Linked DNA regions of Homo sapiens: all the other regions are linked to region 1. Evidence: promoter capture Hi-C in 16 types of primary human blood cells and fetal thymus (Javierre and others, 2016). All regions are on one chromosome and are shown on one strand. Each heading gives the region's core, a stretch centred on a gene start or on the middle of the fragment in contact. The rest is flanking DNA. Distances are from core to core; before and after follow the strand shown. Region 1 holds the start of WDR5B (WD repeat domain 5B). Region 2 overlaps SEC22A (SEC22 homolog A, vesicle trafficking protein). Region 3 overlaps GOLGB1 (golgin B1). Region 4 holds the start of PDIA5 (protein disulfide isomerase family A member 5). Region 5 overlaps IQCB1 (IQ motif containing B1). Region 6 has its middle 3.7 kb from the start of SEMA5B. Region 7 overlaps IQCB1 (IQ motif containing B1).

Region 1 (3,377 bases), core at 560-3,059:
TATACTAAGCCCAGATTTCACCACTATGCAATATATCCCTGTAATAAAAGTGACATAAATCCATAAAAATTACAAAAAGTTGCTCAAAAAAGATTGGTAGTCAGAAGCTGAATTCTAGATGTGCTTTTTCAACTATCTCATTTTGTAAATGTAGTGTATGAATCTCAAAATTTAACAATAGACAATTTTTAAAATACCAAACTGCCAAAATTAAAAGAAACCGTCTTTTTAAATATCCAAGTTTTTTGGCCAACTTGGCTCTACTACTTGATTTTCAAAGGGATTAGTGGTTACTCATCCACAGTTTAATTGTTTTGTCATTTTCTAATGCTGCTGATGCGATGAGGTTTTCTGTAGGATGACAAGCTGCTGAGATCACAACATCTGTATGGCCTTGTAATTTCTGCACAATCTCTTTAGTCTGAAGGTTCCAAATGTAAACCAGGTTATCCTCGGAACCAGACACAATCCACTTTCCACCAGTAACTGAAAAATTGGCAAATATGCAATATTTCTCATTCTTATGACCAGTGTATGTTTTCAGGCACCTGCCTCTGCTATAATCCCATAGTTTAAGAGTGTTGTCCAAAGTTGCAGTGAGAATGTATTTACCATTTGGAGAAAATTTTACAAAAGAGACAGGAGGGTTATCGTCATCAACGAGCGTTTTTAAACACTGACCTGATGCAGCATCCCAGATTCTACAGAGGCCATCATAGCTACCTGACACTATCAAGGACCCACTACAATTAAAATGAACAGCAGAAACTGGGTCAGAATGAGCAGACAAAGTCTTGAGACACTTTCCTGTTTTCACCTCCCATATTTTTACAGTCTCATCAAAAGATCCCGAGATTATAAGGTTGGATGGCGGATTGAAGTTACAACAAAAGACATAATTACTGTGCCCCTTCAGTGTTTTCAAACATTTTCCAGATCTCACATCCCATAATTTTAGAGTTTTATCATCTGAGGCAGAAACAAGACGACTGGAATCTGATGACCAGGCAACATCCGATATTTCCAAATTATGACCATAGAGTGTTTTCTCATATTTTCCATCATATGCTCCCCAAATTATGATTAGCCTATCAGCAGAAGAACTTGCTAGCCATTCTCCATTAGGACTAAACTTAACTGATGACACTGCTTCCGTGTGTCCCACAAGAGTACATTTGAGAGCATAGTTTGGGTTTTCAGGCACTTCCTTGCTCTGATTGGCCGATGAGGAGAGGGCCAACTGTGCTTTGGCGTCTCTTGACTCCTTGGTTGCCATGGCTCTGAAGCTCCAAGTTAGCAGGTGTACTAGGCGTTCAGCCCTGAACCAGGCAGTCCAGTACTTTGGCTTTCTGCCCAGCAAAATGAAGATAAACGCACAGGATTTTAAAATGTACAGTTTTGAAAGCTTAAAGTTTCTGGACAGTCTTTAAACTGTGAGACGGAATCAGCAGCACGGCTTGGACTTCAAGTTTTCATCTTTTTGTTAAGTACTTGAGAAATACTGTTAGAAGGATCCTGTGCGCTGTCAGCAAGTAGGACACAAATGTTCGGCATTCCGTTAATACATAAAGCCTTCAAAGCAGGGGCGACGCGAGGGGCACTCTCTACAGAAAGTATTCTTTCACCGCCGCCCCCCTCCCCAGGTCGAAATGTTTCGGAATGCTGAGCAGCCCTACCAGTCAGGCTAGGTACTTGAAGATGAATGAACCGCCGCTTTTAGCGGATTTCAGAAGCTAAAAGCCTACGAAGCCACCGAAACTGGAAACTCTGGCCTGTCGGCTACTTTTGCTCGTACCAGCAGGTGTGCACTGCCGCGTCAATCTCCAACAAAGCCGGAAAAGCAGCCTGGCGCATGTGCAAAGGAAGTCCCTCCTACCACTACCGAGCCGAGATGACCAATGGGAGACGGCCATCTGCGCCTGCGCAAAAAAGTCGCCAATGTTCATTTCCGGTCTTTTTCGCCCCGCCCTTCAAATGCGAAAGCGACTGCCTTCTTGGGTGAGTGCATTAGCTGGGTAGGGTCTGTCCCGGACCTAACTGGATAGTGTGGGAAGCAGTGGATCGTTGTTTCAAAAACCATTTCTTTTTGGAAATTGTCACAGAGAAGGACTAGATTTGCGGATGCCTACCTTAGCTGCAGGCTTAGGCCCACACCTGACGCGTAAGCTGCCTAAACGGCAGCTAACGTAGATCCACCCAGACGCCGGAAACGGGGGAAGCTCCTGCTTTGCATGGGTTCCGCTCCCTCCTGTTTGTTGTGGTGTGGAGCCAGGTGGCATGTGTGGCGATGGAGTCACGGGGCGGGTGACAGAATTTATGCCAGATTGTAAAATTCCTGGTTTAAGTTTCCCCTGGAAAAGTTTCGTAAAGGTTAAGAAACGTGTCTGTTGAGGTCCTTTAAAAGCCGGTGCTCTGCTGGGAGTAACGAGCAAACGTTTGTTTTAGCATCTACGGCTTAAGCTTCCATAGAGAAGTCGGTATCTCAAAGTTGCTTGAAACAGAAAAGGACAAAGAGGTTGGTGGAATAGGGTAACGGATAAGGTTACTCTTAAGGAGGTTTTAGAGAGCTTTCCCCAGTTTTAGGAGATGATTAATGGTCATGAAAGTGTGTAAAATATACATGCTATTGAAGTTGCAACGAAAGACATAATTACTGTGCCCCTTTAGTGTTTTCAAACATTTTCCAGATCTCACATCCTATAATTTTAGAGTTTTATCATCTGAGGCAGAAACAAGACGACTGGAATCTGATGACCAGGCAGACTTTTAAACAATAGGTTTACCAAAAAACTGGAAGCCCTACTAGTTTCTCCAACCTGTTGTTGCTCAGTAAAGAGTGCCCGAGGCCGAGCACTCACGCCTGTAATCCCAGCACTTTGGGAGGCCCAGTCGGGCGGGACACTTTAGGTCGGGTGTCCGAGACCAGCCTGACCAACATGGCGCAACCAATACTGCTAAAAATACAAAAATTAGCTGCGCGTGATGGCGCACGCCTGTAGTCCCAGCTACTCAGGAGGCTGAGGTGGGAGAATGGCATGAACCAGGAGGTGGAGGGTGCAGTAAGCTGAGATTCCACCAGTGCACTCCAGCCTGGGCAACAGTGAGACTCCGTCTCAAAAAAAAAAAAAAAAAGAGTGCCCAAGAAAAGCAGAAAAAACGTGGCTTAAAAGATTTTACTGGTGGCTGGTCACGATGCAAATGTCTCATCAGCGTCAAGAATTTAAAAGCACTTGGAAACAATGGGTATCCTATTGTATACTTATTAGGGATAATTGAAAGTCTTGGCCTTTATAAGGCACAACAGGCACCGTTAGGTCACCTGTAATAAACCGACTGTAGTTAAAATATCATTACTTTAAGACCCTACCAGTCTAGGG
Region 2 (3,377 bases), core at 566-3,065, 790 kb after region 1:
CAGTAACACCTAGAGATTTCTCCTTTTTCCTCATGAAAAGAGGAAAAAGGGATAGTGAACTTAATGCATTAGATTTATTAGTTGGGTTAATTTTTATTGTCAGATCAGTTATCACCATGAATGGGAAGTCATATTTTGACTTCACACAGCAGTGAAAACTATCAGCTCCTGATTTACAAGCTTTGTAACAACTGGTTTTCTGTGGTATTTTTTTTTATATATATTACTCATTTTTTCCTTTTTGGAATGAGATAATATTGACCTAGATTAAGTGGGCAGGTAAGGATTAATTTAGTCTCTAAGATACAATATTTTTGGAAAAATGCCTGTGAGATTTTTATCAGATTTTTGAATTTTCACCAGTTGCCTCACCACTAGTGAGGAAGCCTTTAGTGACATTGTGCTTTGATGGCCTGACAGAGAAGAGTTATCACTTAATCTTAGATAGTGAACATGTTTTAATTTAATGTTTTAAAAAGTATGGGCCTTAGACAATAAGCAAATTGTCAAGCCCTATCCCACAGTCAGTGGTTCAGAATTTTGAGGGCAGAGCTCAGAAATCTGCATTTTTAACTAAACTTTCAACTTCTTATGCAAGCTAAAGTTTGAGAGCCACTGTGTATTTTATGAAAGGTTGAGTGACTGTTGACCTGAGTTCCTTCAGACTCAGGCCTGTGAAGTCCTTTCATCTGTTTTTGTAAAGCAAGAAGAGAATCCAATAAAATAGGCCATTAAGATTTACTTTCTGGTAAAAAGATTGAGAACAACATTAAAACCAATATTCCTTTAGCTTTAGGATTTATTTTAAATAATTTTTTTCTGATTATAAAAGTAGTATATGTCTACTGTGAATATTGAGAACATTTAGGAAATTATAAAATAATAATAACCAATAATACCATTTCTTAGAGGTGAGCATATTCTTAATTTGGCATCTTTTTCTGCATCCGTTTTTCAATCCCTTTTTCCTTCTCTTTATCTTCGTCTCTTTATCCTTATGTTTGTGTAAAACAACATTTGCAATTTTTATCCTACTTTTTTCTCCTTAACATGTAAGCATTTTACCACATTATTAAACTTTCTCCACAAACATAACTTTTAGTTGCTGCATTATATTCTGTTATATGAATATACTATAATTTACTTAACCATCACCATTTTATAGGATATTTAGATTGCTTTCAGTTATTTGAGTGGAAGAATGTCTTTCTGTTTAAAATTTTGCCTGGATTTCTGATTATTTTTCTCAAGACAGGTATATATTTAAATTTATTGAGGTTAAAAGGTATGCCTTCAGACTCTTGTTGAAATTGCCAAATCATTTTGAGAACTGTTTGTACCAGTTTTTACTTCCATCTGTACTTATGAGAATGCCAGACAGAAGTATTATTTTTTAAAAAGCTAATGTGGCTGGGTGTGGTGGCTCATGCCTGTAATCCCAGCACTGTGGCAGGCGCCTATAGTCCCAGCCACATCCTATGCTGTGGCATGGGAACCCAGGCTGAGGCATGAGAATTGCTTGAACCCTGGATGGGGGATGTTGCAGTCAGCCAAGATGGCGCCACTGCACTCCAGCCTGGGTGACAGAGCAAGATGCTGTCTCAAAAAAAAAAACAAAAAACAAAAAACAAAAGCTATATGTTAAGTGAAGCATAGTATGTTGTTTTAATTAGTTTTTTGTTTTTTTTTTCCTCCTGAGACGGAGTCTCACTCTGTCGCCCAGGCTGGAGCTCAGTGACGCGATTTCGGCTCACTGCAACCTCTGCCTCCCGGGTTCAAGCAATTCTCCTGCCTCGGCCTCCTGAGTAGCTGGGATTACAGGTGTGCACCACCACGCCTGGCTAATTTTTGTATTTTTAGTAGAGAAGGGGTTTCATCATGTTGGCCAGGCTGGTCTCAAACTCCTGATCTTGTGATCCACCCTCCTCAGCCACCCAAAGTGCTGGGATTACAGGTGTGAGCCACCACACCTGGCCATTTTAATTACTATTCTTATATTACTAGTAAGTTGAACATTTTTACATATGCTTATCAAGTTTGGCTTTAATTTTTATGTAACCCAAATTGTTCATTTTGTTTTAGGTCTTCTCTGTTGGTTGAAATGTCTATGATTTTATCTGCCTCAGTCATTCGTGTCAGAGATGGACTGCCACTTTCTGCTTCTACTGATTATGAACAAAGCACAGGAATGCAGGAGTGCAGAAAGTATTTTAAAATGCTTTCGAGGAAACTTGCTCAACTTCCTGATAGATGTACACTGAAAACTGGACATTATAACATTAAGTAAGACTTCAGTTTGCTTCATTTGACTCATTTGCCCAGTAGTTGTCATTTTAATGAAGTTTAAGTGGTTGCAATAGAAAGGAGTGATTAGGAAAACCTGTTCAAGTCGAGCATCATATTGTTCTGAACTTATACTAAATAGTCATCATGTCAGCAGCAGCCTTTTTGTAGTTTCTTTGTATCTGGCTCTGGGAAATTTTATAGTTGTGCAGATCATAGATATCCCTCTTTTAAGTTGATCACTAAATATTTATTTGCATTCTTACATACCTAGGGTTGTAGTAAGCAAACTATAATTGGAAATAAAAATTTTTTACCTGATATCTGCCCTCAAAGAACTGAAGCAACTTACGTCTAGTGGGAGGGGGTAGCACTTATCACTGAGTCACATACAAATCAAGTAAAACTGGGCAATGGGATAGAGAGTGACTATTTATTGTGGTCAAGACACTCTCTGAGAGGGTGACATTTGAGCAGAGACCTAAAAGATGAGAGAGGAGGTAATTATATGAAGGATGCTGTGGATGAAGAGCAAGGCAGAGGTAGCAGCCAGTGGAGAAGCCCTTTTTTACATGCCAAGAGACAGAAAGAAAACCAGTGATCCTGAAGAATTATGGACAATTAATAGAGTTGCAGAAAGTGAGGCCAGAAAGGTAGGAATGGGGCAAGTTATGTAGTGAGTTTGGAGTCTATTAGTCTGTTTAGTCTAATGCAGTAGGAAGCCATTGGGTAGTTTTAAGCTATAGAGTTACATGATTTCATTTGGCTTAGAGTAGATCATTCTGCCTGCACTGTGAAGAATAAAGGAGGAAGTGGAAGCAGAGAGGTCAGATGGAAGACTCAGAGAAGTTCAGGTGGAGGTGCTGATTGTAACGAGCTAGGGTAGTAATGAATAGAAGTAGTTAGATTGGGGCTATATTTTGGGATTAATACCAGCAAATCTTCCTACTGGATTGAAATAGGATGTGAAGGTAAAAGAAGAATAATCACCTGTAGTTTTTTGGCCTGAGGAACTGGATGAATAATGTAGCTGAAATGAGCAAGAAAGGAGAGGATAAGTGCGTCTCCTTGGTAAAAAGTAAGAGTTCTGTTTG
Region 3 (3,377 bases), core at 1-2,500, 700 kb before region 1:
AACTGATGGATGGGCAGAGGGATGAATAAATAGATAGACATTTGATAAAGCAAACGTGCTAAAATGTTAATGATAGAATTCAGATGGTGGGTATACAGATGTTCGCTACAAAACTCTTGCAACTTATTCGAATGGTTGGAAAACGTCTTAACAAAACATTGGAGGAAAAAGTCGAGAATGGGAGAACAGAAGAGACTGGAAAGCCTAGATGCTAGAAACCAAGAGGCAAAAATTTTTATCAGTGGACAGCATAGCCCAGGAATGACAGGACTCTGCTGACCAATATGTTTGTGAGTTTGGAAGGGTATAATCTTACAATGGAGATGACTGAATCTAGTTATCTCAACTTGACATTAGTCAATTAAGAACATCAAACTAACTGCCTTCATTCTGATATTCAGGCTCAATCAGCCTGAATCAGCCTTCGATGATTACAATCTAGCTCTCTACAGAGATTTTTGTAGATGAAAGAAAGAATATACTGGCCAATAAGAAGCTACTTGGCCATTATATACTTTTTTACTGTTAATTAATTAATGGGAACAATATGATTTCCATAGTAGACTTTTAAGTTTGATTAGACTGACTCGTGTTCACTAAACCTGATCAAATCTTAGTTTACCAAAAAAAAAAAAGACTTCCGAACTGGGAAAATTAACTACAGAAGCAAAAGTAATGATTCATCTCCGATACAAATTGTTAAGACCTTAGAATCAGAAAGGCTTCTGAGACCATGGTATTTGTTATCTATTATTTTCTCATTCTTTATTGTTGAAACACTGCATTAATGCCTTTCATGATTCCTTTCAAATAGAATTGTCCTCAAAAAAGTATTTTTTCAGGCAGAAAAAACAGAAGGTTTATATAGCTCTCTGGAATAAATCCTCATTAGAGCACCGAAGTACAGATACAGCAAAGACAAACAGTTAATATTCATAAGAAGTTCACATTTAATTACCTGTGTGCCCTCATTATAAACATCTGGGAAAGAAGTCTGAGATGCTGTTTCATGTTGTTGCAAGGGCAGTCTATTTAGAAATTGGCTAATTTCTTTGGATTTTTGCTGGAGCTGATCTAAGGAAAAGAAAAAAAATAAATGTAATATTTGCTTCAAGTCTGAAATGTAGTTATTATTATCTTCTAAAGATACACTGTATGCTGTTTACTAGTTTAGTTTCCTTAGTTAAAATTATGATGCCAATGACAACATTATTATTAGCTAAATGTTAAATGTTCTCAAGAACCAAAGGACACCTCAGTAAATCACTTCCTTCAAAAGTAAAATAAAATAGGCCTAGGCACTTTTTTTTTTTTTTTTTGATACGGAGTCTCCCTCTGTTGCCTAAGCTGGAGTGCAGTGGTGCGATCTCGGCTCACTGTAACCTCTGACTCATGGGTTCAAGGATTCTCTTGCCTCAGCCTTCCAAGTAGCCAGGATTACAGGCATGCGTCACCATGCCTGGCTAATTTTTTTTTTTTTTTTTTTGTATCTTTAGTAGAGATGGAGTTTCACCATGTTGGCCAGGCTGGTCTCGAACTCCTGACCTCAGGTAATCCCCCCCACCTTGACCTCCCCAAAGTGCTGGAATAGCAGGCGTGGGGAGGCCTAGCCCTAGGCATTTTTTACAAGTTCATTTTCCCTTTCCCCCTTGAAAATGGCTTTAGGGTTTTTGTTTTCTTCACTCTCGACTTAGGTATTATGGATCCCACCAAGATTCCACCACATGGTTTTAAACATCAGCATGCTTAAGAGAACAGCTTGCTCATGTAACACCCTGGTCTTGTGTGATGCCCTTCAAAACTGTCTGGCTAGGGCACAATGGCTCACGCCTGTAATCCCAGCACTTTGGGATGCCGAGGCGGGCAGATCACCTGAGGTCAGGAGTTCGAGACCAGCCTGACCAACACGGAGAAGCCCTGTCTCTACTAAAAATACAAAATTAGCCAGGTGTGGTGGTGCATGCCTGTAATCCAAGCTACTTGGGAGGCTGAGGCAGGAGAATCACTTGAACCCAGGAGGCAGAGGTTGCAGTGAGCCGAGATCATGCCATTGCACTCCATCCTGGGCAACAAGAGTGAAACTCTGTCACAAAAAAAAAAAAACAAAAAACAAAACTGTCTGGCTAACATTCAGTTATTCAATACAAATTTTCAACTTAATTGTTTCTAAAATCTTTCCTTTATGTCTATGTCAATATATTAGTAAAGGTTATAATTTGGGGAAGAGGATTGGTGAGATGGAGTATTGGTGTTGAGGAAGTTTCACTTTTTAATTTATAAAGTTCTAAAATGTTCAATTTTTTATAGGCACATATTACTTTTATAATAACACATTTTTTAAAAGTTTCCTTTATACCTTCATAAAGGATAAATTTTCACCTGTAAGACAAGAAATCAGGTGAAAAGAGATTTTCACCTATAAGAAAAGCACTGAGATCCATCCTTCTTCAGATTTATGGATAACTCCATGCAATTTAGTCTCCTAACCTATGCACCTAGATCTGGCCTGAGTTTTCCAAAAACTAATTCAAATCCTTCTCGTTTCAGTCATTGAATCCTTCAGATCAGTCATATTTAACATAGCATTCTATTTAATATCTGGAACATCACTATCACATTTTTAGTATTGTAATGATAATTATAATATTAAGAAAGATTATAGCCAGTCAGAGGCAAGAAAAATGCATCAAGAAGTTCAGAAGAGCTGTTTTTCTCAGTCCTTCTATTGGTTCAATTGGTTTGAGTACAGATTTCATTAACAGATCCCTGAAAATATGAAATACAAGCCACTCAGATGGTAGAGATGTGGACTTCAAAAGCAATCAGCTACTGACCTTCCAGTTGCTGAATGGTCTGGGCTGACTGAACTGCTTGCTCATTCTTATCTTGGAGAAGCTTTGAATTTTGATCCTTTAGAGCATCACAGGCAGACTGCAGCTCTTGTCCAGTCTTTTGAAGACTCAAAATATGAGAGGTCTTCTCTTCCATTTCTGCTTTGTGCTTCTGCTCCAAAGCACTATACCGAGACTCTAGTTCAGCCTGGGCTTGGCCTGCTTGCTCAAACTGTTCTAAAAGATGATGCATTTCTTCCTGCAGATTATGGAAGGATAATTTTCTCTCTGCCACTTCAAGTTCCATCTTTTCCAGTAGAATCTTGGACTCCTCTCTTTCTGTTTCCACAGTGTTCCTCAAAGTATTATGCTCAGCTTCCATCTGCTGTAACTGCTGAGAGAGAATCTAAGAAAAAAGACAAAGTCTCATGAGCCATAAATACATTATTTCATTTCAACAAGCATTGTAAAGTGCTTTTTCTTATAGGATGGAAAAAAATGGGAACATGTTTCTATGCTAGAGAGAAAGCCCTTCTCAAGAAGGAG
Region 4 (3,377 bases), core at 437-2,936, 650 kb after region 1:
CGGTTTTGTGGAAGACAAGTTTTCCACAGATGGTGGGGGGACAGGGGATGGTTTTGGGATGAAACTGTTCTATCTCGGATCATCAGGCATTAGATTCTCATAAGGCACCCACAACCTAGATTTCTTGAATGTGCAGTTCACAATAGAGTTCACACTCCTATGAGAATCTAATGCCACCACTGATCTGACAGGAGGCAGAGCTCAGGTGGTAATGCTCGCTGGCCCACAGCTTGCCTCCTGGTTCCTAACAGGCCACAGACTGTCCAGAGGCCCAGCGTTTGGGGACCCCTGCTTTAGCACAGGGAATGGGTTCAATAAAGAGTTTTTTTCTTTTGAAAATTTTTACTCAGGTAAAATTCACATAACATCAATTAACCATTTTAAAGTGTACAGTTTAGTGGCATTTAGTACCTTCACAATGTTGTGGAACCATCATCTCCATCTAGTTCCAAAATGTTTTATCACTCCCAAAGGAGTCCCTATACTCATTAAGCAGTCATTCCCCATTCCTTCCTCCCCACCCCCACTACTATGCTTTCTGTCTCTGTGGATTTACCTATTCTAAATATTTCATAAGATGTAATCACATCATATGTGACTTTTTGTGTCTGGCTTCTTTCATTAGCATACATTTCTGAGATTCATTCATTGTAGAATGTATTAGCATTTTATTCTCTCCCCCCCACCTTTTTTTTTTTTTTTTTTTTTGAGACAGGGTCTCACCCTGTGGCCTAGGCTGGGGTGCAGTGGCATGATCTTGGCTCACTGCAGTCTCCATATCCCAGGTTCAAGCAATCCTCCCGCCTTAGCCTCCCAAGTAGTTGGAACTACAGTCCCTTGCCACCACACCAGCTATTTTATTTTATTTTATTTTTATTTTTAGCAGAGATGAGGTCTTGCTATGTTGCCCAGGCTGGTTTCAAACTCCTAGTCTTACACGATTCTGCTGCCTCAGCTTTCCAAAGTGTTGGGATTACAGTCATGAGCTGCCCTGCTGGGCCACTTTATTCCTTTTAATGGCTAAATAACATTCCATTAGATGGATGTATCACACTTTGTTTACCCATTCATCCTTTGACAGACGTTAGAGTTGTTTCTACCTTTTGGTTATTGTAAATAGTGTTGCTGTGAACACTGGTGTACGTGCATTTGTCTGAATACCTGTTTTCAATTCTTTTGGGTATTAGCCTAAGGGTGGAATTGCTGGTCATATAGTAATCTATGTTTAACTTTTTGAGGAACCACCAGATTGTTTTCCAACAGCTCAATAATGTTTTACTGAAGTTAAATAGAATAAGCAGGAGGGAGTCTGGGAGGCAGGGATGAGGGCTTTTCCTGTCCTTCACAGGCAGCCCTGGACTCTGCCATTTACCGGCTGTGTGATCTGGATCAACGTACTTAAATTCCCTGCGCTGCCTCCTAATCCTCAAAGTGGAGAAAATAAAACCTAATTTCTGTGAGCTGCGTGAGATACTGTTTCTGAAGCTCCAGGCACAGAGTAAGCCCCCGCTCATTAATTGCCTTCCCTTACTCCCTGACCTTGCCTTTTCGCACTTCACTCGCTGCCACGTGGCCTCGGAGCCCAGTCCGCACCCGCAGCCCCCAGCTGAGCCAGGCTGCAGACTACAACTCCCAGCGAGCACTTCTTCCCGGCCGCCTCTCCCCAGCTGCTGCGCATGCTTTGGCAGACGTGGCACCGGGAACTCGGAGGCGGGGAGCGGCTGGGAAGTGGCCGTGGTGGTTGGCCGCGGTGGAGCTAGCAGGCGGGCGGGCGGGAGCGGGCGCCGGAGTGGAGAAAGGAGCCAGCGGTGGGCAGCGCTGCTGGGATGGCGCGGGCCGGGCCGGCGTGGCTGCTGCTGGCAATCTGGGTGAGACTGTGGGGCAGGGATCCGGGCCGGGCCAGCACGTGTGTCCCGCGTGCCCTTCTGCGCTCTCTGCTCCAGCCCTCTGCGGAACGTGCGGGGAGCTGCCCCGGGGCACCGGGATGAGGGCGTGCATGCCAGGCAGGCGGGCACTGGGTGCTACGCGGGAGACAGCGGGCGTCCCGGTGCCCTCGCCGCCAAGCGCTCCCGGACGCAGGGGCAGGAGGCAGCTGTGGGGCGCCGGGAGATCCCTGGCAGGGTGCTTACGCCACGGCCACAACTTTGCGGGGATGCAGGTCGGGGCACAGCCGGTCGGGCAGGACGCCGGCGGGCTGCGGGGTGAGCTCCGCTCCAGACTCCGAGCCCTGCACCTGTGTGAGTGCGGGGTGGGATGGGGGTGCTTACTACCTGCACTGCCGGAAACCTTGGTTTAGGGCCACCTTGTTCTTGGCTTCGGCCCCAGGCGTCTGGGAAACTGCGGGCCACCACCTGGGCCTCCGCCCACAGGCCAGGCTCGGTGGGCTGGGTGGGGTCGACGTAGCCCGCCCCGGCGGAGGAGCTGCTCCTACACCCAACTGAGGCGGGCTCGAGCCTCAGCCACTTTCTAGCTGTGTGACGCGGCGGTTCATTTAATGTATCTGAGCTAGTTTCCTCATGCATGATATAGAAAGGCAAAGCTACCCCCATAGGGTGGTTCTGAGAGTCGGATGAGGTCTCAGTGGAGGAAGCTGTGTAAACTGCAAAATCTTACAAAAGTGGAAAAGGAGTGGACTCCAAGAGTAGTTTGCTACACTTGGTGGGGGGGACTCCAGGCATCCCTGAGAGAGGTCGGAATGGGTGTGCCTGCCGGCCCAGGTCTGGGGTTTGGCCTTCGTTTCGCTGTGGGTGTGTGATGAGATATTGTGGCCTCCTTCCCCATCTTTTCCATAACTTATGCGCTCCCTTATTTTAGGACCATCCTGGTCCTTTTCCCCTGAAGTTCCAGGGAACTTCCTGTTCCTGGCACCCTCCCCCCAACCCAGATTTTCCCGTTCTTTTCCATTTGGGTGTGGCAAGGACACTGGGCAAATGGGAGGAGAAAAGTGTGGGTTGAGTTGCTTGAAACACTTCCATCTCCCAATACCCTGGCCTTTTGGATCACCAGTGAGGAGTGGCCTGGTACTCTCTGGTTGGAAGTGGGTGGGGAAAGAAGCCCCCTGTTCTCTTCGGTCTGTGTTCTCCCTCTTGGGGAGAACCAGGCTGGAGTGGGGCAGTGTCACTTAATTGCGTCTGGGTTTGTTGAATGCTGGTTTGCCATCAGTTCCCTGGAGCCAGTTGGTCTGGGCGGGTCTCTGGGCCAGGAGGAGGGAGCTATCTCCTGAAACGCCCCCCATCGGTCTTTGCACTTGGGCTGAGTAGGAGGTCCTGCTTTCCTCCCTTTCCCCTCCCTTTTGTGAAAACAAACGGCTTGAGAATCTGAAATTTCATTCGGCAGACATTTATTTGTCAATCACATTGTTTGGATTGATATTTTGC
Region 5 (3,377 bases), core at 583-3,082, 620 kb before region 1:
AGGGCGTGACTATAAAAGAATGCCTCTTGCTGAATCTAAAGAACACTAATCAACCTGGACCCATAAGTGTGACCAGTGGGCAGTCTCTCTCCCAAAACCATGGGAAGGGGAAATTACTGAGATAAGTCCTGAGCACAAAAAGACAGAAATAACCTTTGAAAAAAAACCAAGCTACAAAGGAAGCAAGAGACATTTGCATGAACTGTTACAACTAATAGAAGAGCGAAGGTGCTGAACTGGAGAAAACTGAAAATTAAAAAATTAAATAGAATCCAACAGGTTAGAACCGCATTTCAGTATATTCTGGAACCTCAAATGCAAAAATACTGGAAAGGCAACAAACACAAAATGTGAGACTTAAATAATTTTTGCTTCACAGCTTATCTTTTTAATGGAAGTATTTATAACTCTTCTGGTTACATAAAGAAAGCAATGGAATTTCTATTTTAAAATAATGGAATATTAGATTCCATAGATACACTTCTAAGTAGAAAAAAATCTGTAATCCTGGGCTACTTTTAAATAGAGATTTTAATATTGAAAGAGAGAGTATATGAGCAAATTTGGGAACTCTTGTGGGACTAAACATTAATGCTCTGAATCCATGTATAAGGGTACCCTTAAATTTAAGATGACAGGTAACTAAGGATGATAGCAGGTGGAATCCATAAGTAATACCTACTCTATCTGAATTCACCACAGAGGCAATACCAAGAGCACCTCAGATGCTTTGGGTAGAAAAATATACACTGTGACTCAAAAAGTACTCAATATTTCCCAAATTTATCTAACCACAGAAATGCTTTTAAAAAAAAAACAGCTTGTAAGATAGGCAATAAACTTTGAGTAATAATAGATGGATAATACTTGCTTCTCATTAGTACTACCTATTTAATGCATCTATTTGTTTACCTAGATTTGTAAATTTTCAAGGACAGAAAATGTGCCATATGCATTTTTCCTTCTATCATTTTTTAAGTGCCAGATAATATGCTAAAAACTTTGTATTATCTCAAATTTTACATTATCTTGATCATACAAGTGTATAAACTATTATTCTCATTTTATAGATTGGAAGTTTGAGGCTGAGAGAGGTGGGGGATTGTCCAAGTTCACTCAACCAGTAAGCTGCTCAAGTGAGATACAAACTCGAATCTGTTAAATGCCTAGTACATATATCATATACTAGGCATTTGATATATATTTAAAAATTAATTCTTTTCTTTGCTACCAACAATATTCATGCCCAATAATATTTAAAATCCATCTTTAATTCTTCCCTGAAGAAAACGTTCATCAATTAATAGGATACCCACTAAGAGACACAGTTAGCTAGAGTGATTTCAATGTCTTCAACTCTGTGACTACATAGTATTTTGAACCCCAGAGCTATTTTTAAATGTTTTTATAACTGAGAAATGCATCTGCAGTTATTAAAAGAATAGTTTCAGTTTTCTTTAAAGAATTAACTTCTGTAAAATGCCAGTTTCATTTTAGCAAACTAAAGCTTGGCTTTAAGTTAGGCTGCATGAAAAAGTCACCTCTGAAACAGATCTTCTTTACCATAAATTACCTAGAAGCTAAGTTATTTTTTCTTGTTCTGTGACCTTGGAGGATCTGGATTGGTTAAGTCATTGCAGAAAGTGGGCTATGTCTTCAGTATTTCCTTTTCAGTCTACTTGAAATAAATGCCGAACTATATCATAATTCAATGAAGATATCCATCCATGCCATATTTATTCAGGAAAATCAGGTTAACAGACTTAAACTCTTATACGCATACATGTTATTGTTATAATTATACACACGAAATTATGATAACTGTTGGTTTAGAGGGTTTAATAATATAACTATCATTGGCTCCCTTTGTAGGCTTGGCCCCTCCCCAAATATCTTATTAAGTGGATAGGATTGCATATTTGACACATCAGATTCCTGTCTTACATCCTTTGCTTTGAAAGTGCATCTGGTTACTGGAGTGTTGGTACCCAGAAACGTATGGAAAAAAAATGAAAAGATAACAAGAAACATACTAGGAAATTAAAAAAAAATCACCTAAATTTCAATTCAACTGTACTCTAGTAAGATTCTATGATCATCAATCCCCTCACCAAATTTTTTTACCTGAAACTCCTCTGCAAAGCAATCACAGCAGATGGAAGCTTCTTTAATCTCTTTCTTGTCTGAAAACCCTTCCAATAGGCTTGAATCAAGCATGCTGCTTGATGTAGTTTCTGAAATGCCGAAAATAATTTAGAGATATCTCTAGGAAGGTCTTTAAAAAAAAAAAAAAGTTTACCTCTTAAAGTATCAGGTTAGGGCAAATATTAATCTCTAGCTCTAACAAGATGGGTAAGAATATTAAACCTTACCTCCCAAAGGAGGTATGTTAGGCTTGGTAAGGCAATTTCTAGAACATACTCAAGATATAGTCTAGTTAGCTCCAAATTCTCCCAGAATAATCTCACTTCCATTTCCTTTTCAAAGATTTCATAGTCCGCCTGACCTTTCATAATCTTTTTTGAGCTAACATGTTAATGTTTTTACTTAATAGGCAATCAACCTAGTTAGGTTCAAACTATAAGCTCTGTTGACCATTGTGGATGGTTGCTCGAATCTCTGTTTAGTTCTGTAAGCTTTTGATATGCTATTCTCCTGATAGACCATTGGGCTTAAAAGGTCAGTGAGCTGTCTGAGTTCTTGACTGAATTCTGTCCCAGTCTCCTGTTTACTTAATAGACTTCTGAGTCCTCAAATGGAATGGCAAAGGGTACAACTATTAATAATAAAATATAGTTTTATGATTTTGTTACCTAATCAATATGAATTTGAGCATATGCATAGTTTTGAGATTAATCTAAACTCACGATGGTTCATATATACAGAAAAAAGGAATTCCCTTCTTCTGCACTCTTCCTTCCAGCCTCCCCCAACCCATTCTCCTGCCTTACTGGACTTATTTTCATGGTTTCTGCTTGTATTTTTAAATTTATTGTCTTTTTGGTTTTGGATTTTGGATATACAATGTCCCCTTTTCCTTTTAAATTAAAAAATATCTTTAGTCATTTTAGATGTTTTCCATATTTAAGTCTTTATCTGGAAATCAGAAAGCAATATGCCTCTTCCTGTTGAATGGGCTATTTAGAGCCATCATTTTGAGTATGCTAGAGGAAGTATGATGAAATAATCAATAACTTGCTGCCTCAAATTTCTAAATAATTTTATTAATACCATTTCTTACACAAAGGAAAAGGCATTATTGTTGTATCTCAAAGAACAAGAAGGGTAGCCATAGGTAACCATAAATACAGTTTGCTACAATTAGAGATTTTTTTTGGAAAAACAGTTTTAAAAGTTTAAATAGCTTATAGATAAAA
Region 6 (3,377 bases), core at 617-3,116, 620 kb after region 1:
ACTATCATGTCAAGGCCTTTCCTGGCTCTCCCTCTCCATGTTATAAAGTGGAGAGGGGGTTTGGGGGCTTGGCACAGGAAGGGAAGAGAGGAGACTCCAGGCTGGGGACACAAAGAGGGAAATTTTCCTTTTCAGGGGAAGCAGGAGCCAGGACAAGGAGGCACCCAAAGAGACAGACCAAGTAGCAGGGCAGCTAGCAACATTGGGCTAATTAATCCTAATTGCATCCTAAAGCATTGTATTGATTAACAGTGATTACTCAAGAGCTCTCAATACAAGAGAGCTTCAGAAGCCCAACCCTCCGGAAGAGACAGTTTCTTTACTGGCCTGGCTTACCACCTGCTCTTTGGCAAACCCAGCCTGGTTAGAATCTCTGAATCATTTACTTGGAACAAAACCTGGAGCATTGATTCCATCACCACAGTATCACAACCAGCTTCTGCCACCTTCCTTAGACCTTTGCAATAACCTATAAGATAATTGCTTCTGTTAGGAGCAATTCTTCTTCTACCGAAACATTGTAATTAAGCAGAATGGAAATATAGTAATTAACACAGTGTTATCTCAAGCAAACAAGCTAAAGAGCGGTGAATATAGGGGGTGACGGAGTTTTTAGGATTCACTCTTGACCTAGAAATTCCAAACTTATCTTGAACTAAGGTTGAAAGAGTTTAAGAAATAGATCCAAATTCTCATGCTCAAGAGCAGGAAAGGGTGGAAAAGCTAGGAGCACAACACTGTCTTCTTCCTCCCACCTGAGGGCATTTTCTGGGAGATAAAGCTAAAAAATGAGTGCAGGCTCTCCCAAGAGGCCATCTCTCTCTCTCTCTCTCTCTCTCTCTCTCTCTCTCTCTCTCTCTCTCTCTCTCTCCCCTCTATGTGTGTGTGTGTGTGTACACATGCTTGTGCATAGCCCAGGCACAAACACAAACCTTGTCTTGCAGCAAAAGGCAAACAGCCAGTCATATACTAATAGGAGACAGAGAATTGAAAATAAAAAGACAGCACGTATAATGTCCAAATTGTTTTCTGCTCCCAGAATTGCCTGCTCATTGTGCCTGGGGATGGCAAAGAAAAAAGAAAATTCCCACCCCAGAAGTCATTGTCAATTTGTGAACCAAAACCTTGCTCAGGTCAGAGGAACTGAAGTGTCACTGAATGACTGCTTTGCCATTGTCCTGAACTAATGTGAAAGAAGAGATCTTCCTTCCTTCCTTCCTTCCTTCCCATTTAAGTGTCACTCACTAAGCTAGGCAGAGAGGTCATAGGAAGAGCTTCACAGGCAGGCAGGGGAGGCAGACGTAATCATAGCAAATGCAAGGACTGCCACAGGATGGGAGCTCTGCGGGCACATGGAGAGCCAGTTACCATCCTACCAAACAGGACAAAGAAGTCTTCATTGGAAATGGCCATTCTAGCTGAGAATGGAAGATAAGGCAGGAATTTGCCAGACAGAGAAGCAGGAGGAGGCAGAGTATTCCAGGCAGAGGAAGTAGCATGTATAAAAGCACAAGGCGATATAATTAGATTTCTGTTTGAAGAATTACTTGCCCCTGGTTAACAGATTCAGAGAGAGCTGAAGCAGTAAATGTGAGCAGGTGTTTCATGTGGTGGAAAGAGCACCGCACCAGCAGTTAGGGCTCCCCAGTCCTAGGATGAGCTGGGCCACTGATGAGCTGAGTGTCCTTGGACAAGCCTCTTAATCTCTCCAACCTTAGCTCCTCCTGGATAAAATGAAAGGGGTTGATCCACTGGTTTGTAAGCTTCTCCTTGCACATGTATTCTATGATTCTGTCTCTACCTGAAGATACTTCTTTAAATCCTGCTCTACATTATGCTCTTTACCGTATTTGCACACTTGTTCCTTTCCTTGTGTATAGCACTTTACAGTTTACAAAACTATTTGCCATATACTATCCCCTTTGACCTTCACAGCCATGTGAGGGAGACAGCTACACTGAAGACCTAGATAAGCTTGTCCAGTCACTGGCTGTAAACCTCTCTGTGCGGATGATGCCCAAGTTTGTATCTGCAGCTCCGGCCCTCTCGCTCTCTCTTAAAATCTGGATGTATAGAACCAACTGCCTGCCCCTCCTCTGCATGACCATCTAAGAGACATCTCTATCTTAACATACCCAACACTTAACTTCTGATTTGTTTTTCCAAGCCAGCTCCTCCCTCAGTCTTCCCCATCCTAGTAAGTAAAAACTCCATTCTTCCAGTTCCTCAAGGTCAAAAGCTTGAAGTCATTTCATACCCTCCATTCAGACCATCCATAAATCCTGTCGTCTCTATCTTTGAAATATTTTCAGAATCTTACCATTTCTCCCCACCTCTTCTACTTGTGCCCTAGTTCAAACCACTCTCTTCTCTCCCCTGGATGTTTGCTCTGCCATTTCTAACCTTTGTACCTACAGTCTGTTCTCCACACGGAAGCTGTCCTAATTCAGATCCTATCACTCCTCTGCTCAAAAACCTTCTATGGCTCCCCAGCTCTCTAGAGAAAAAGCCTTAGCAGCCCCACAAGGCCTGTCTGACATTATCTGCTAGCGCTCTCCCTATCCTCACTTCTCTCAGGCTTCCCCAGCCTCTCTGCTATTCCTCACACACCCAAGGCTCTCACCTCAAGGCCTTTGTACTTGATGCTCTCTCTGCCTGGAAAGCTCTTTTGCCAAATGTCCACATAGGTCATTTCCTCACTTCCTTTAATCTCTGCTCAAATATCAATTCATCAGAGATGTATTACCATCTTTTCAAAAATGACAAATACTTGTCATTATCACCATCTGACATTGTACATATTTATTGTCTGTCTCCCCTGACCAGAATATAAATTCCACAGGAGCAGAGGCCTTGCCTGCTTTGTTCATCACTATAGCCCCAGCTTACAGAACAGGGCTTGGTTTTTGTTTGTTTGGTGGTTTCTTTTAAAGGTACAAAATAATGATTTAATAAATGAATGATTATTATCCTCATTTTACAGATAGGAATCAGGGATGCAATTGGTAATTTTCAGAGCTAGGCTTGAACTGAGATTTTTCCATATAAATTTTTTTCTCCAATTGCTTATTAGTTAATATTTATATTAGCACTTAAAAACTCTTTAATAGAAAATGTATATTATAGTAAAACATGCTAATTGTTTTTCAACCCAGTTAACCACCTGCAGCATTCCAAATCACAACAGAGGGGAGAATTAGCTCTGAAACCCACAAAAAGTGTTCATCAATCCCACATACACGCAATTTTTCTGGAACCATTTTTGTTCCCTGTGTTACATTTCTAGTTTTTCTTCATACAGTCCTAAGTCAAGGGTGTGGTGAGAGATTGGGAAGGCAGGCTTTGTAGCTTGGCCTCGGGCTGACACCCAGGGGTAA
Region 7 (3,377 bases), core at 311-2,810, 600 kb before region 1:
TACTATAGCACAAAAGTAATGATGAGACCCGCAAAAATATTATGATTGCCATGATTATTCTTTATAATAATGAAAGTATTTTTTTCCTAATATCCTAGGAATATTCTAGGACAAGTGCTGACTTGAATATAACAATGGAAAAAAAAAAAACCCATAAGAAACGTCACATTAGAGCAAGAATCCTTTTATCCTTTTAGTTCAGGAAGCTACCTTTGCCAGAGTTTTACCTAAAGATACATCAGAAAGGGCATGGTAATTCTCATTGTTGTCAATCCCAAAAGATAGTGTTGTACTCTTAGACTTCCTACTTTCCTTAAAATGCACATTAGATAATGTCACCCACAAATTCATGGTTCTTGAGGCAGGTTAACAAAATTTACCTTTAAATCGAAATTCTCACATATACTCACACAAAACCACTTTGTATTTTAGGTCAGAACGTGTATGTCCCACCATATGATCTACTAACTATGTACTATCTAATTAAAACAAAAATCTGATTGAAAAGCTCCTAGGTAAATAGACTAATAAATTAATTCAAGTTTTTGCCACATCTTTTTTATGCCCCTGTTTTAATTTTGCCCTGTGGTTAAGTGGCCTTACTTTTTCTGTAGCCAATTAATTCTTGGATAACATTAAAGAATCTTTATCTCAATAAAAATACAATAATAAAGGACAGAAAAATATTATGAAAAGTATTAAGGATTCTATAAATGAAAATAATTAACTGAATAAGTATATTTATAATGAAAGTAATATACAAATACATAACATATTAATACATAATTTTAATAATATATAAGGAAAAAGAATTATTAATGCTCTTAAATAGGAATATTAAATAAAGGTGCTTTGAAGAAAAGATAAAGCTTACATAATGGTCTGAGCTATTAATGGGACAGAAATTATTTTACAAATGAGGAAAATGAGATACAGTGAAATCCAGTGATTTGCTATAGAACCTAGAGTTAGTTTGTGGCACAGCCAGCAAAAGAAATCAAATCCAACACAATTCCTATAGTTTATGTGGCTTCAACTAACCTGAATTAAACTAAATCTAGCAAATATTTATTTAGTGCTAACATCCCACAAAATGCCAGTGGAGATATCAGAAATGGAATTTGTAACCTGTTACATGGAACACATATGCTCTACCACTGAGTTAAATTCTCTGCCAGGGGGATCTGGCAAGATGGTTGAAGAGGAACAGCTCTGGTCTGAAGCTCTCAGCAATAGCAATGCAGAAGGCAGTGATTCTGCATTTCCAACTGAGGTACCCAGTTCATCTCATTGGGACTGGTTAGACAATGGGCGCAGCCCACAGATGGCAAGCAGAAGCAGAGTGGGGCATTGCCTCACCTGGGAAGTGCAAGGGGCTGGGGACCTCCCTCCCCTAGCCAAGGGAAGGGAGGGACTGTGCTATCTGGCCCAGATACTACGTTTTTCCCATGGTTTTTGCAACCCACAGACCAGGAGATTCCCTGTGTGCCTAAACCACCAGGGCCCTGGGTTTCAAGCACAAAACTGGTCAGCTGTTTGGGCAGACACTGAGCTAGCTGCACGAGTTTCTTTTTGTACCTCAGTGGTGGCTAAAACCCCAGCAAGACAGACTGTTCACTCCCCTGGAAAGGGGTCTGAAACCAAGGAGCCAAGAGGTCTTGTTCAGCGGGTCCCACTCCCACGGAGACCAGCAAGCTAAGAACCATTGCCTTGAAATTCTCGCTCCCAGCACAACAGTCTGAAGTCGACCAACCTGGGACAACTGAGCTTGGTGGTGGGAAGGGCATCCACCATTACTGAGGCTTGAGTCGGCAGTTTTCCCCTCACAGTGTTAAGGAAGCCACTGGGAAGTTTGGACTGGGTGGAACTCACTGCAGCACAGCAAGGCAGCTGTGGCCAGACTGCCTCTCTAGATTCCTCCTCACTGGGCAAGTCATCTCTGAAACAAAGGCAGCAGCCCCAGTAAGAGGCTTATACATAAAACTCCCATCTCCCTGGGACAGCGCACCTGGGGACAGGGGAGACTGTGGGTGCAGTTTCAGCAGACTTAAATGTTCCTGCCTGCCAGCGCTGAAGAGAGCGGCGCATCTCCCAGCACAGTTGATATACTGAATTTGAATTTGTTAGTGCTAGAGCTCTGCTAAGGAACAGAATGCCTCCTCAAGTGGGTCCCTGACCCTGTGCCTCCAGACTGGGAGACACCTCCAAACAGGAGAGCTCTGGCAGGAATCAGGCAGGTGCCACTCTGAGACGAAGCTTCCAGAGGAAGGAGGTGTGAGTAATATTTGCTGTTCTACAGCCTCTGCTGCTGATACCCAGGCAAACAGGGTCTGGAGTGGACCTCCAGCAAACTCCAGCAGACCTGCAGAAGAGGGACCTGTTAGAAGGAAAACTAACAAACAGAAAGCAATAACATCAACATCAACAAAAAGGACACCCACACAAAATCCCCATCCAAAGGTCATCAGCATCGAAGATCAAAGGTAGACAAATCCATGAAGATGAGGAAAAACCAGCACAAAAAGGCTGAACATTCCAAAAACCAGAACGCCTCTTCTCCACCAAATGATCGCGATTCCTCCCCAGCAAGGGCAAAAACTGGACTGAGAATGAGTTTGATAATTAACAAAAGTAGGCTTCGGAAGGTGGGTAATAACAAACTCCTCTGAGCTGAAGGAGCATGTTCTAACCCAGTGTAAGGAAGCTAAGAACATTGAAAAAAGGTTAGACAAATTGCTAACTAGAATAACCAGTTTAGGAGAACATAAATGACCTGATGGAGCTGAAAAACACAGCATGAGAACTTCATGAAGCATACACAAGTATCAATAGCCAAATTGATCTAGCAGAAGGAAGGATATAAGAGAATGAAGATCAACTTAATGAAATAAAGTGTGAAGACAAGATTAGAGAAAGAAGAATGAAAAGAAATGAACAAAGCCTCCAAGGAATATGGAACTATGTGAAAAGACAAACATACGATTGCTTGGTGTACCTGAAGGTGATGGGGAGAATGGAACCAAGTTGGAAAACACTTCAGGATATTATCCAGGAGAACATCCCCAACCTAGCAAGACAAGCCAACATTCAAATTCAAGAAATACAGAGAATACCACTAAGATACTCCTCGAGAATAGTAACCCCAACACACTTAATTGTCAGATTCTCCAAGGTTGAAATGAAGGAAAAAAATCTTAGGGGCAGCCAGAGAGAAAGGTCAGGTTACCTACAAAGGGAAGCCCATCAGACTAACAGCGGATGTCTCTGCAGAAACCCTACAAGCCAAAAGAGAGTGGGGGCCAATAATCTACACTCTTAAAGAAAATAATTTTCAACCTAGAATTTCATATCTAGCCAAACTAAGCTTATGAAGCTTA

Evidence for each region. Contacts are between HindIII fragments. The CHiCAGO score rates a contact against its expected background, and 5 or more counts as called.
Region 2: a contact is called between a fragment that was not itself captured here and the fragment with the promoter of WDR5B in region 1, in 4 of 17 cell types (naive CD4 T cells, fetal thymus, total CD4 T cells and 1 more). The highest score is 7.6, in naive CD4 T cells.
Region 3: a fragment that was not itself captured here is called in contact with the fragment with the promoter of WDR5B in region 1 in 1 of 17 cell types (neutrophils); the score reaches 5.3 in neutrophils.
Region 4: the fragment with the promoter of PDIA5 here is called in contact with the fragment with the promoter of WDR5B in region 1 in 1 of 17 cell types (erythroblasts); the score reaches 5.4 in erythroblasts.
Region 5: a fragment that was not itself captured here is called in contact with the fragment with the promoter of WDR5B in region 1 in 1 of 17 cell types (naive B cells); the score reaches 5.9 in naive B cells.
Region 6: a fragment that was not itself captured here is called in contact with the fragment with the promoter of WDR5B in region 1 in 1 of 17 cell types (total B cells); the score reaches 5.4 in total B cells.
Region 7: a fragment that was not itself captured here is called in contact with the fragment with the promoter of WDR5B in region 1 in 2 of 17 cell types (total B cells and naive B cells); the score reaches 6.0 in total B cells.

The regions. Positions count from the first base shown.
Region 1 is chr3:122,414,253-122,417,629 of GRCh38, forward strand. WDR5B (WD repeat domain 5B) reads right to left here and starts at 1,810. Exons shown (of 1, transcript NM_019069.4): 1 at 1-1,810. The coding sequence starts at 1,276. The coding sequence ends at 284. It overlaps WDR5B-DT (WDR5B divergent transcript), which reads left to right and starts at 1,954. Exons shown (of 3, transcript NR_125405.1): 1 at 1,954-1,998. RefSeq lists enhancers at 1,355-1,554, 1,790-2,607, 1,825-2,064, 2,095-2,144, 2,305-2,504 and 1 more. The HindIII fragment of the contact is 1,055 bases long and covers 1,404-2,458 here.
Region 2 is chr3:123,207,117-123,210,493 of GRCh38, forward strand. SEC22A (SEC22 homolog A, vesicle trafficking protein) reads left to right here. Exons shown (of 7, transcript NM_012430.5): 2 at 2,083-2,283. The coding sequence starts at 2,102. Among named protein-coding and RNA genes, the nearest start is that of SEC22A, 6.9 kb to the left of the region's middle. The HindIII fragment of the contact is 3,274 bases long and covers 179-3,377 here.
Region 3 is chr3:121,713,903-121,717,279 of GRCh38, forward strand. GOLGB1 (golgin B1) reads right to left here. Exons shown (of 22, transcript NM_001366282.2): 9 at 2,835-3,237; 10 at 959-1,074. Among named protein-coding and RNA genes, the nearest start is that of GOLGB1, 34 kb to the right of the region's middle. The HindIII fragment of the contact is 3,286 bases long and covers 1-2,893 here.
Region 4 is chr3:123,065,339-123,068,715 of GRCh38, forward strand. PDIA5 (protein disulfide isomerase family A member 5) reads left to right here and starts at 1,687. Exons shown (of 17, transcript NM_006810.4): 1 at 1,687-1,868. The coding sequence starts at 1,827. RefSeq lists a silencer at 1,742-1,981. The HindIII fragment of the contact is 10,820 bases long and covers 1-3,377 here.
Region 5 is chr3:121,793,333-121,796,709 of GRCh38, forward strand. It overlaps IQCB1 (IQ motif containing B1), which reads right to left. Exons shown (of 15, transcript NM_001023570.4): 10 at 2,125-2,234. Among named protein-coding and RNA genes, the nearest start is that of IQCB1, 40 kb to the right of the region's middle. RefSeq lists an enhancer at 1,625-1,674. The HindIII fragment of the contact is 655 bases long and covers 1,506-2,160 here.
Region 6 is chr3:123,029,808-123,033,184 of GRCh38, forward strand. No RefSeq gene overlaps it. Among named protein-coding and RNA genes, the nearest start is that of SEMA5B, 3.7 kb to the left of the region's middle. The HindIII fragment of the contact is 211 bases long and covers 1,762-1,972 here.
Region 7 is chr3:121,809,808-121,813,184 of GRCh38, forward strand. The region is part of intron 5 of IQCB1 (IQ motif containing B1); the gene reads right to left. Among named protein-coding and RNA genes, the nearest start is that of IQCB1, 24 kb to the right of the region's middle. The HindIII fragment of the contact is 1,387 bases long and covers 868-2,254 here.